Regions from separate parts of the Homo sapiens genome. Here region 2 is linked to region 1. Evidence: promoter capture Hi-C in 16 types of primary human blood cells and fetal thymus (Javierre and others, 2016). All regions are on one chromosome and are shown on one strand. Each heading gives the region's core, a stretch centred on a gene start or on the middle of the fragment in contact. The rest is flanking DNA. Distances are from core to core; before and after follow the strand shown. Region 1 holds the start of CYCS (cytochrome c, somatic). Region 2 holds the start of JAZF1-AS1 (JAZF1 antisense RNA 1).

What was found. Contacts are between HindIII fragments. The CHiCAGO score rates a contact against its expected background, and 5 or more counts as called.
Region 2: a contact is called between the fragment with the promoter of JAZF1-AS1 here and the fragment with the promoter of CYCS in region 1, in 3 of 17 cell types (naive CD8 T cells, non-activated CD4 T cells and total CD4 T cells). The highest score is 7.1, in naive CD8 T cells.

What each region holds. Positions count from the first base shown.
Region 1 is chr7:25,124,010-25,129,407 of GRCh38, forward strand. It overlaps CYCS (cytochrome c, somatic), which reads right to left and starts at 1,251. Exons shown (of 3, transcript NM_018947.6): 1 at 1,191-1,251; 2 at 1-118. The coding sequence starts at 110. It also overlaps a transcript of SPMIP4 not described here. RefSeq lists enhancers at 176-720, 721-1,264, 1,412-1,661. The HindIII fragment of the contact is 6,168 bases long and covers 859-5,398 here.
Region 2 is chr7:28,176,427-28,182,118 of GRCh38, forward strand. JAZF1-AS1 (JAZF1 antisense RNA 1) reads left to right here and starts at 4,031. Exons shown (of 4, transcript NR_034097.1): 1 at 4,031-4,113. It overlaps JAZF1 (JAZF zinc finger 1), which reads right to left and starts at 4,369. Exons shown (of 5, transcript NM_175061.4): 1 at 4,037-4,369. The coding sequence starts at 4,151. RefSeq lists enhancers at 2,588-3,089, 3,090-3,589 and a silencer at 3,444-3,563. The HindIII fragment of the contact is 6,606 bases long and covers 1-4,830 here.

The DNA of each region.
Region 1 (5,398 bases), core at 1-2,500:
AAGAGACCATGGAGATTTGGCCCAGTCTTGTGCTTGCCTCCCTTTTCAACGGTGTGGCACTGGGAACACTTCATAATAAAAATCTTCTTGCCTTTCTCAACATCACCCATATTTAATTCTAAAAACGAAAGCTTCAACTTAGTAAATTTTTCCTCAGGTAACAAATACAGTGTAAATGAATGACCACTCTAGCCACTTAATTACCAATCCATTGCTAATTTATGTCATTAAATACCAGAATGAATCTTGTTTTGCTTTAATACTCTTTATACCAAATATTCTTTAATACCAAAAACATTTTTAGGAGTACCTCCTCAAAAACGTATTTTTGTGTGTATACGTGAAGGAACGTTAAAGCCCAAGCAAAGAGGGAACCTAATTCAAACTCCAGTTTCAGAAGAGACAATCATGGTCACGAAGTCACAGATCTGAAGCTCAAGGGCGAACACATTAAGCCAAAATCACCACAACCGCAACTTTTAAAAAGACCTAACCATTTAATCTTACTACAATGTAAAGCCACCTCTCCCTGAGGATAACGCAAAGCACACAAATGTTTAAAAAGCGGTCCTGGCTGTTTCTATCTGCCCAGGTCACAGGAGTAGCTTGACACTCGAACTTGTGAATGGGAGCTCAGGGGCAGGCTGCACGGTCCCCCGGGGACATCCCAACTCCCCTACCTGTGATCTCCTGGGGCGACCACGAGGTCACCCGTCCAGGTCGGTTTCAAGGTGATTGATGAAACTCCTTCTAGGATGTCAGAACGACTGACGGAAGAAACATGTGCCCACGAAAAGAACTGGCCCCTTATTAGAAGAGCAACAGCTTTTGCCCTCTGAAGAAGAACGTGAAGCTCTAAGCTTCGGCTTTCCAGGAGGGAAGTCTTGCCTATCATTTCCATAGCCCTTCAGCAACCACTACGGAAGAGGCCGCCTCCTCCTCGGATCTGTATCCAAGCCGCCTCCAGTCCCTGACCGAGACCATACCTGTCCCTAGTTAGGGCTCCGCCGCACCTCAAGCCGTTACTCGCCCAGCTCGGTCTGACCACAGTCCAGGGTCTTCACTCCCCGCCCTCCCACCCAGCGCGGGCTCCACTCGAATGCTCCCCGCTTGGGTTTCGGTCGCTCGCAAGTGCGCGCCTCCCACAGCTCTGCCTCTAACCAGGTGCGGCCTCCGCGACCCGCTCTCACCTCTTTTTAGTCGCTGGCACAACGAACACTCCCGCTCCGAAGCCGGACGTCCCCACTCTCTAAGTCCAAGGACACGCCGGTCCGCGCTTAAGTACCGGTGTAAGTGCAACCAAACTCGCTCCGCGCTCCCGCGCCCTGACGTGCGGCCGAGCTGGCGGCTACGCAGTAACGTCGCCGCACCTCATTGGCTCCAGTCCCAATGCCTGCGCCAAGGACCTGCGCGCGCATGCTGGCGAGCATGTTAGGGTGTACGGCGTGCGTGCCCTTCTTCTCGAGGCTTTTCCCGGCCGTTACGACAGGCCTTTGGTCGTACGACAACGAGGTGGTGTCGGGAGAGGTGACGTCACTCGCGGGCCTCTGTGCGCTTGCGTGTGCTGGAGGAGCGGGGAGGGTGGGGCGGAGTCGCTTGGTTGGTGCGTTGCCCTGCTAAAGTATCAGTTCTTGGGCGTGGTGATGTAATGAGCTTTGAGCAGGGCGTTTTGCCGGTCCAGGAAAAGACGCCCTAATTTTGGCGCACCTAGAGGTCTCCTAGCTACCATCTTGTCAGCAGGCGACCTTTACCCAGACTCTGTCCTACTACCACGGCTGGCGCCAACAGCATCCTAGAGGGACAGCCTGGAACCAGGAGTTACACGAGTTGGGCACCAGCTCGTGACCTTGTTCTAGTTCCACCTATACTCTGTTACTTTCAGTCACATTCCAGCTCTCCGCTTGATGGACGCCCCAAGACTGAGGAAGGTGCTGCATTTGCGGCAGAGACAGGATTATCCCTCTGGAACTGAAAAATAAAATTAAGAGGATGCAATGATAACATTTATGTACCTTTTAAAATTTTTATGAGTACGAAGTAGGTAAATATATATATATACTTAAGAGGTACATGAGATATTTTGATACAGGCATACAATGTATAATAATCACATCAGGGTAAACGGTCTATCCATCACCTCAAGCATTTATCCTTTTTTTCTGTTACAAGCAATCCAATTATACTTTTAGTTTGTTTAATGTACAATAAATTATTGTTGAGTGTAGTCACCCTGTTGTATTACTAGACCTTATTCATTCTTCTTCAGTGGCGCCATTTAATGTCTCAGCCCCCCAAGTAGCTGGGACTACGGGAGCAAACCACCACGCCCAGCTAATTTTTGTATTTTTAGTAGAGATGGGGTTTCACTATTTGGTCAGGCTGGTCTCGAACTCCTGACCTCAGGTGATTCACCCGCATCGGCCTCCCAAAGTGCTGGGATTACAGGTGTGAGCCACCACGCCCAGGGCAAATAATATTTTATAACCCATTGTTTTAAACTGATGACAACATAACATTGATTGCATAAACAAAAATCAAAGAGAAAACTAAGAAAAACTCTGCACTTTAACTTCACTCTCCCCACTTTTAAAACTTTTTCTTGTTTCTATTTATATATTATTATACTATGTCTTGAAAAGTTGTTATAGCTATTATTTTTGATAAGTTAGGTTAATCTCTAAGTCTTTCTACTCAAGATATGAACAGTTTACACACAATTACAGTATTATAATATTGTGTGTTTTTCTGTGTACTTACTATTAGTAGTGAGTTTTGTACCTTCAGGTGGTTTCTTATTGCTTACGAATGTCCTTTTCTTTCAGACTGAGGAACTCCCTTTAGCATTTCTTGTAGGACAGGTCTGGTGTTGATGAAATCCCTCAGCTTCTGTTTGCCTGGGAAAGTCTTTATTTCTCCCTCACATCTGAAGGATATTTTCACTGGATGTACTATTCTAGGATAAAAGTTTTTTCCCTCAGCACTTTAAATATGTAATGCCACTCCCTCCCGGCCTGTAAAGTTCCACTGATAAGTTTGCTGCCAGACTTATTAGAACTCCTTTTTATGTTATTTGTTTCTTTTCTCTTGCTTGCTTTTAGGATTCTTTCTTTATCCTGGATCTTTGGGAGTTTGATTATTAAATGTTTTGGGGTGTCTTCGTTGGGTTAAATCTGCTTGGTGTTTTATAACCTTCTTGTACTTGAATATTGATATCTTTCTCTAGGTTTGGGAAGTTCTCTGTCATTATCTCGCTGAATAAACTTTCTACCCTGATCTCTCTCTCTAGCTCCTCTTTATGGCCAGTAACTCTTAGATTTGCCCTTTGAAGCCAGTTTCTAGATCTTATAGGTGTACCTCATTCATTTTTATTCTTTTTTCTTTTGTCTCTTCTGAGTGTGTATTTTCAAATAGCCCATCTTCAAGCTCACTAATTCTTCCTTCTGTTTGATCAATTCTGCCTGTAAGGGACTGCATTTTTTAGTACGTTAATTGGATTTTTCAGCTTCAGAATTTCTGCTAGATTCTTTTTAATTGTTTTAATCTCTGTTAAATTTATCTTGTAGAATTCTGAATTTCTTCTCTGTGTTATCTTGAATTTTGTTGAGCTTCCTCAACACAGCTATTTTGAATTCTCTGTTTGAAAAGTCACATATCTCTTTCTCTCTGGAATTGGTCACTTGTGCCTTCATTAGTTTGTTTGGTGAGGTCGTGTTTACCAGGGTGGTCTTGATGCTTGTGGATTTTTGTTGGTGTCTGGGCACTGAAGAGTTAGGTATTTATTATTGTCTTCACAGTCTGGGCTTTTTATTTTTTTGTATCCACCCTTCTTGGGATGGCTTTCCAAGTATTTGAAGGGACTTGGGTGTTGTGATCTAAGTCTTTGGTCACTGCAGCTATATCTGCATTAGGGGCCATCCGAAGCTCAGTAAAACTATAGCTTTTGCAGACTTGTAGGGGTATGACATTTGTGGTCTTGGGTAAGATCCAGGAGAATTACCTGGATTACCAGGCAGAGACTCTGTTCTCTTATCTTACTTTCACCCAAACAAATGGAGTCTCTGCACTGAGCTGTCTGGAGCTAGGGGAGAGGTGACACAAGCACCCTTGTGGCTGCCTCCACTGTGACTGTGCTAGGAGAGACCTGATGCCAACATAGCACTGGGTCTGGTCCAAGGCTTGCAGTGACCACTGTCTAGCTACAGTAGCTTATGTTTCCTCAAGGCCTGCATTCAGAAGCTGGTGAATTCAGCCAGCCTTGTGTCCTTCCTATCAGGGCAACAAGTTCTCTCCATCTTCAAGTAGGTCCAGAGATGCTGTCTGGAAGCCAGGGCTTGGGGTCGGGAACCTTAGGAATCTACCTGGTACTCTATTCCACTGTGGCTGACCTGGCACCCAAACCACAAGATAAAGTTATTCTCACTCTTCCCTCCTCTTTCCTCAAGCATCAAAGTCCTTCCCCATGACCACCATTGCACTAGCCCATGGCTAGTACTTCCTGGCTATGCCAACATTCACTCAAGGCACAGGGGCTCTTCAGTCAGCTTGTGATAAATGCTATTAGTCCCGAGTTTCTCCTTTCAGGGCAGTGGGGTCCTCTTTGGCCCAGGGCATGTCCAGAAATGCTGTCTAGGAGCCAAGGCATGGAATCAGGGACTCCAGGAGCCTGCTTGGTGCCCTACTCCCCAGTAGCTGAGCTGGTATCCAAGTCGCAAGACAAAGTCTCCTTACTTTTCCCTCTCCTTTCCTCAAATAGGAGTCTCTCCCCTGAAGCCACCACACCTGAAGCCAGCATGGCTGGCTACTACTACTGATTATTCAAGCCCAAAGTCTCTTTAGTCAGCAAGTGATGAATCTTGCCAGGCCTGGGCTCTTCCCTTTAAGGCAACAGGTTCCGTTCTGGCCCAGGGTGTCTCTAGAAATTTCATGTGGGGGCTAGGGCATGAAATGGGGGCCTCCCCCTAGTGCACAGTTCTACCGTGGCTGAGCTGGTATTCAAGTTGTAAGACAATGTCTTCTTTACTCTCCCCTCTCTTCTCCTCAAGTGGTGGGAAGGAGTCTCTCCCAGTACTGTCAGCAGCAGTGCCTGTGGCTTGGAGAAGGGTGATGCAAGCATTCCCTTGGCCTCCCTGGCTAGCATCTCACTAGGTCATGTACATTCTAAGCCCAATGGCTCCAAGCCCAGCAACAGAACTTGCCCAAGAATTGTAGTTCTTTTGGCCTATTCTGCCTTTCAAGTTTATTTGGGACCCCCCCAGAGCACTTTAGCCCACGGTAGCTGGGCCTGCTAGAACTCAGGTTCTGGCTGCTTGGATGAATGACTCCTCTCTAGCTAGGGCTCATCTACATGCTCCCTCTGGGCACTGGCTGATTTCTGCCCAGTGTTGTTTTTCACTGTGAC
Region 2 (5,692 bases), core at 2,781-5,280, 3.1 Mb after region 1:
TTGTCTCCCATATCAGCCTCTCAGCAAGGCCCACCCTGACCAATCTATTTAAAATTCTCATACTTTCTCCTCCCAACCCTCCGGACCCTGATCTAGTTTTTCTCTTTTCTGTATCACTAACCACCTCCCAACATACTGTGTATCACATACCTCAATTGTTTATTGTCTGGCCCCCTATCCTAGAATATAAACTTCCTAAAGAGTGATATTTTCATTTTGTTAACCAAAAAATATCAAGTGCTCATAACTTTGCCTGGCATAAACTAGGGACTCAATATATATTATTACATAAATAAATTCAAAATGCAGAGGTACTTTTAAAAATGCACCAAATAATCAAATAAGAATGATTCAACAGTTGTGTTTCTCAGACAAAAAGCCATACGATTTCATAGCACTGGGATGCAGGGTTGTAGCGGCATTTCATGAGCCTGGGACATGACCTTCAGTGCTAAATTTAGTGCTCCTGGTGTTTCTAAGATTCCCAGTTACCAGTTTAACTTCATCTATCTAGGATGTTCATACCAAGAATGTTTCTACAAACTCAATTATCTACTCAAAATAAGAAGCAAGCAAACCTGGACCTGCTTTTCCCATCTCCATGTAACAGACTCAGACCTATGAATGAATTGATAACAAAATTGATGGAAAAGCACTTCACAGTTGCAGGGCTACGGGATTTCTCGGCAATTTAAATTTAAGTGGGGATGGGGGAGAGTTTTAGCTAGGATATTCAGTGTATACACTGAGACAGGTACTCCAGTACTGAACCAGCAGTGAAATGCAAGAAAGAAAACAGGAACACCGGTACAGCACTCTTCCAGGAGAGAAAAGAGCTAAAAAAGTGGGTGGTGAAAATCACACTTCCCTTGGTTCTAAAGCCCCCAAATCCTTGTTCATTATGGGGAGAGGAAAACAGTTAAAAACAAAAGTTAAGCATACACATATAAGATAACAGAGAGTTATTCTCAACTTAATGCACTTAATTAATCCAAACTAAACATAATACTTTTATAATGAAAAACACAGGCCTTGAAAAATCTGCCAAGCAAGAAACACACCATATTCCCATAAATATTCATTTTATCGCTGTTTAAGGGTTTTTACTAGTGGCTAAAGGTAATAACCCAGATAGGCCCCCAAAATGGAATGCTCACCTAAGCATATCTCTAATACTCACGGTTGCTAAATAACAAGACTGTTGAACAAATTAAAAGCAAAATAACACACCTCTTATTCTTTTCATGAATCTTTTTAATGTAACCACTCACCAACAGACATGAAATCAGTAAGTCAATCATTAACGGTCTCCAAATACTTATAGATTGAATCAAAAACGATAAATACCACATAACAATACCTGTCTAGAACTTTGACTAAATGCTTTATATTTTCACCCATGTCTTTTCATCAGAAGTGTATTTATATGACACTATCTACTAATTGGGATATTTTTATTCTTCTTAAGATCAGTTCTTCTTTCTGCATATAGGGCTGCCTTTGATAGTAAAGGGCCTCTCCCCAGCAGAAGTGTATAATAGTTTGAGCCTCTTCATCCTGGGAATTGCAAGTGTTTGTTCATTTTAACATTTGCTTTTCATAAAGTTTGCTGGTTCAAACTGTTTTCAACTGTGTTAGCCCTGCAACACAGTTCACCTAGGTCACTGCTATTGCTGTAAACTTAATTTTTCCACATTTTCACTATTAAAAGGACAACACTAGCCTTCTGGGAATGAGGTAGCATTACTTCAAAGCTGAGTTTTAGAAAACGTATCAAACTCTTAACCTTCTTTAAAAATGTGTGCAAAATATTAAGACAATTTCTACACTTAAAAAAAAAACCTCATGATTCACCAAGTTTTAAACCATCTCAAACTAAATCCTCAAGAAGGATAACTGTCTTTAACACATTTTAATAAATATAATTTATACTGTCTTTTAACCAGCTTGTCTAAGTAGGTAGGCAATGGGGTAAAATTATTACTCAGCTTATATAAATTATAGTTTATTCTGAAATAACTGTTAGCGAGAATGGATGGGATATGCAATGACAGCCTTCTGTAAGTCAAGAGAAATTATTTATTTATATTACTTATATCATACATATTAATGTATAGCATTATCTATATTTATTTTTTACTTATTATTGGGAGTAAGGGGAAGAACTTGAACTAGTAACATTTCTACCAGAACTTCACAGTACCGGTGTTTTCGCTTTATTTTAAACTAGCCATCATGAAAAATCTGATTTAATACTTTCAAGCACTTTCAGTTATGACTATTCAATCATGATATGAATCAGCAAATTGGTTGCTCCATTAAACTGCTTTTAAGACTACCAAAACTTGCCCAGCTCTTCTGTCATACCTTTAGCAGAGGAAATGGAAGAAGCTATTACAAGGACGCCTGAAAACTTGAAAAGTTTCAAAACCTGGACAATTACTCAACAGCATTTTCCTCTGAAAGACATTTTGTAGACGTTTCCCATGATTATCTCCTATTCCGGATGGCCCATCAAATCACATTCTAAACAGGCATTCAACACTTATTAAGCAGCCACTGTGTGCAGAGACAGCACTATACTAAGCAAAGGAGCATAGGGTTCTGCCTCATTTTATTCCTGCATAAATACACAGCAGTCGTGATTTATTCTCTCAACTTTGTAGAAACGTGAGCTGCATCCACATGGCTGAATCCATGGCATTCATTTGGACTTCCTGGGGGCAATTTACAGGTTCTCTGGATTAGACAGCCCCATTGGGACATCGCTCGGACCCTTCACCTTCTAGCCCACGCAGGACAACTCGCTGGCGTCGGTCACACCTTCCGCAGGTGGTTGGACCGCCTAAGCCAGATGCACCCGGCCCACCTCCCTTAGCAGGGGTTCCGAATAGAAGTGTGAAAATGTGTGCAATGACTTCTGCAAATCAGAGGACTTGTTGAAAGGTCCAGGGGTCCAGGCGTGAAGGGAAAGCAGCCACCCTGCGGGGCGCCCCCTCCCCGGCGTCTCCCGGGCCCGGGGCGCTGCGCAGGCCGCCGCCGATCCCAGGGCGCAGCCAGCGCACCTCGGGCCTAGCACCATTAGAAAGGCAAATCGCAGAGCCGGGGTGCATTTAAATGCCCGGCCATGGGCCCTGGGGGTGTCTCTCCAGCGGGCGCCGCCGCAGGGGCCTCCAGGGCGCGTCGACCCCGGGGCGCTGGGCGCGGCCCGCGGGCGCACCCAAGACCTCAGCCCGCAGCGCCCGGGCGTCCGCGCCAGGCCGGGGCAGGGGAGGGCACCCAGAGCCCCCGGGCCCGCGTCCCCGGCCCCGCCCGGGCCCCTCGGCCGCCTCCCAGGGAGAGGGCAAGCTCCCCGGCCCCCGCCCGCGGCCGCCGGCCCCGGCCCCCTCCCGACGCACCACACCTAGCAACCGGCGCTGACAGGACGCAGTGGCGGCGGCGGCGGCGGGAGGAGGAAGCGGAATGGCTGCCGCGGTGGAGCCACCCCCGCCCCCCCGCTCCACCTCCCCGCGGCTGCAGCCGCCGCCGAGCCCTGACAGCTCGAGCCGGGGCGGAAGCGCCCGGCGGCGTGCAGCGCCCGCCCCCCGCTGCCCTCAGCGCCTCGGGCTACTCCGACCACCCGGGCCAACTAACTCCGCGACCCTGCCCAGCGCCCAGCTCCCGCCGCCCGCCGCGCCCTCCGCCCCGCGCCCCGCGCGCCGGCACTCGGCCCCGCCGCCGCAACCCCGCCGCCCCGCCGCGGCGCTCCCCGCTCCCACCACTTCGCAGCCCGCGTGCACGCCCCTGAGTCCCCCAGCCGCCCGCCCGCCCGCCCGCGGCACCTCGGGGCGCCCGCCCCCTCCCCCACCCGAGCCCGCTCCCCGCCCCCCGGCACCTCGCGCCCCCGCATCCCGCCACCCCCACCTCGGGGCTCGCACGCGCCCTCCCCGCCCTGCCGCCTCCCTCCCCGCCGGCCACCCCTGGCCATTCCGGGGCTCCCCGCCCGGGCAGGAGTTTCCGCGCGCCTGGCACCCCCGCCCACCCCCGGGCCATTTACCGATGTGGTTGTCCTCGATGTGCTCGATGAGGTCGGCCAGGGTGGGGAAGTGGAGTCCGCAGCCCCCGAATCGGCAGGTATTGGAGAAGAAGGAGGCGGCGGCGATGCCTGTCATGGTGCTACATCGAGAGCCCCCCTGGTGTCGGCTCTGCGAGCGCCGGGCGGGCGAGGGAGGGAGGGAGGCCGGGTGGGGTGAGGAGAGGAGGGGCTGGGGGAGGGGGAGAGAGGCGGGGTGAGGGGAGCGGCGAGGACGGGACGGAGGGAGAGGGGGCGAGAGAGATGGAAGGAGAGCGAGGAGCCACCGGGAGGCAGAGGGGAGGCGGCGGCTGCGGCGGCGGCGTCGGGAGCGGCGGGGGGAGGGCGGGGGCGGGGGCGGGGGGGGAAGGCCGCCGCAGCTGGGAGGAGGGACCAGGGCGCGCGGCTACAGCTGTGCGGCCCCAACCTCAGCGCGCGGACCCAGGCCTCACCTGCGAGCCCTGCCACCAACTTTATCTCGCTAGGCCTGCCCTTTACGGCTTGCCATCCGTGCCATCTGTTTGGAGCCTCCTTGGTTATGTATATGACGTTCTTAATACACCCACATCGATTAATTACACCTACCTCCCTGCGAGGAGAACTCAGGGAGTTACCCTGGTCCCTCTCAGGGACATTTTTTTGTACTCAGCCACCTGTCTAGGTGTGACACATTCACAGGGGACCCAGGAAAGGTAATTGTGTGCACCTTCTTCTTTAAACCTTCTTTAGAAAAAGTACACATTCTCCGGAGGTTTGTACTAACTAATTGATTTTAATGAAGCTTTCCCTCTAGGCCAGAAAAAAATCTTAGCTTTATTTAAATTTCAAAATAGAGTGCTTGGTTGTCAAGTGCATTTGCCTGTGTTTTACATATGTGCCACGTTTTTTATACTCCCTGCTCCTTCTAGGAAAACAAAAACTAAAATAATTTCATCACCCGAAATTACAGCACCCTACTGCACCCACTCCACCATCTCAGGTCTGGTAATTAACCCATCCTCGTTTCAGCCACTGCAGAAAGGACAGTGCATTGGTTAAGGCTAGAAGGAGCGGAAACAACGGCAAGGGACATAGTGACTCTTCATTTAAAAAGGAAGCGATTTCATCCTGTGAGCATTTAAAGCATAATGTTGACCAGGTAACCACTTAAGGTGAATTTAGTAGCTTCCCTGAAAACCAGCATTTTGCTGAGAATCAATTACTTTCTTGTCCCCACCCCCTCCTCCAGTTGCAGTCATATTTCTTCTGTAAAGTGTGTATTTTCCAGTAGCACTTTTCCAGGTGTCTAAGAAATATTACACATTATCAGCAGTTTATGACCCAACAGTACATTTTTTTTATTAATATTAATATATGCATACTGAATTTAGCATTTTTCCTTAGGGCAAATTTCACTTACCCTCTGGTGCAGATGCATGGAGAAATAGTATTCCTCCCTCCATAAACTCTATGCATCTCTGTCTAGTGTTATTTCTAATAATGGGATTGTTTGCTTTTCATGTAAGTGCTTAGAGTAAAGGCACATGTAATATGTCTGTTGCTACAGGAAGTTTTATGATCTGACCATCACCGGTGGCATTTTCTCTTCTCATCTCTTCTGTCTTGCAGCTCACAAGGTGACAAACTTGCTGAGATGAGATT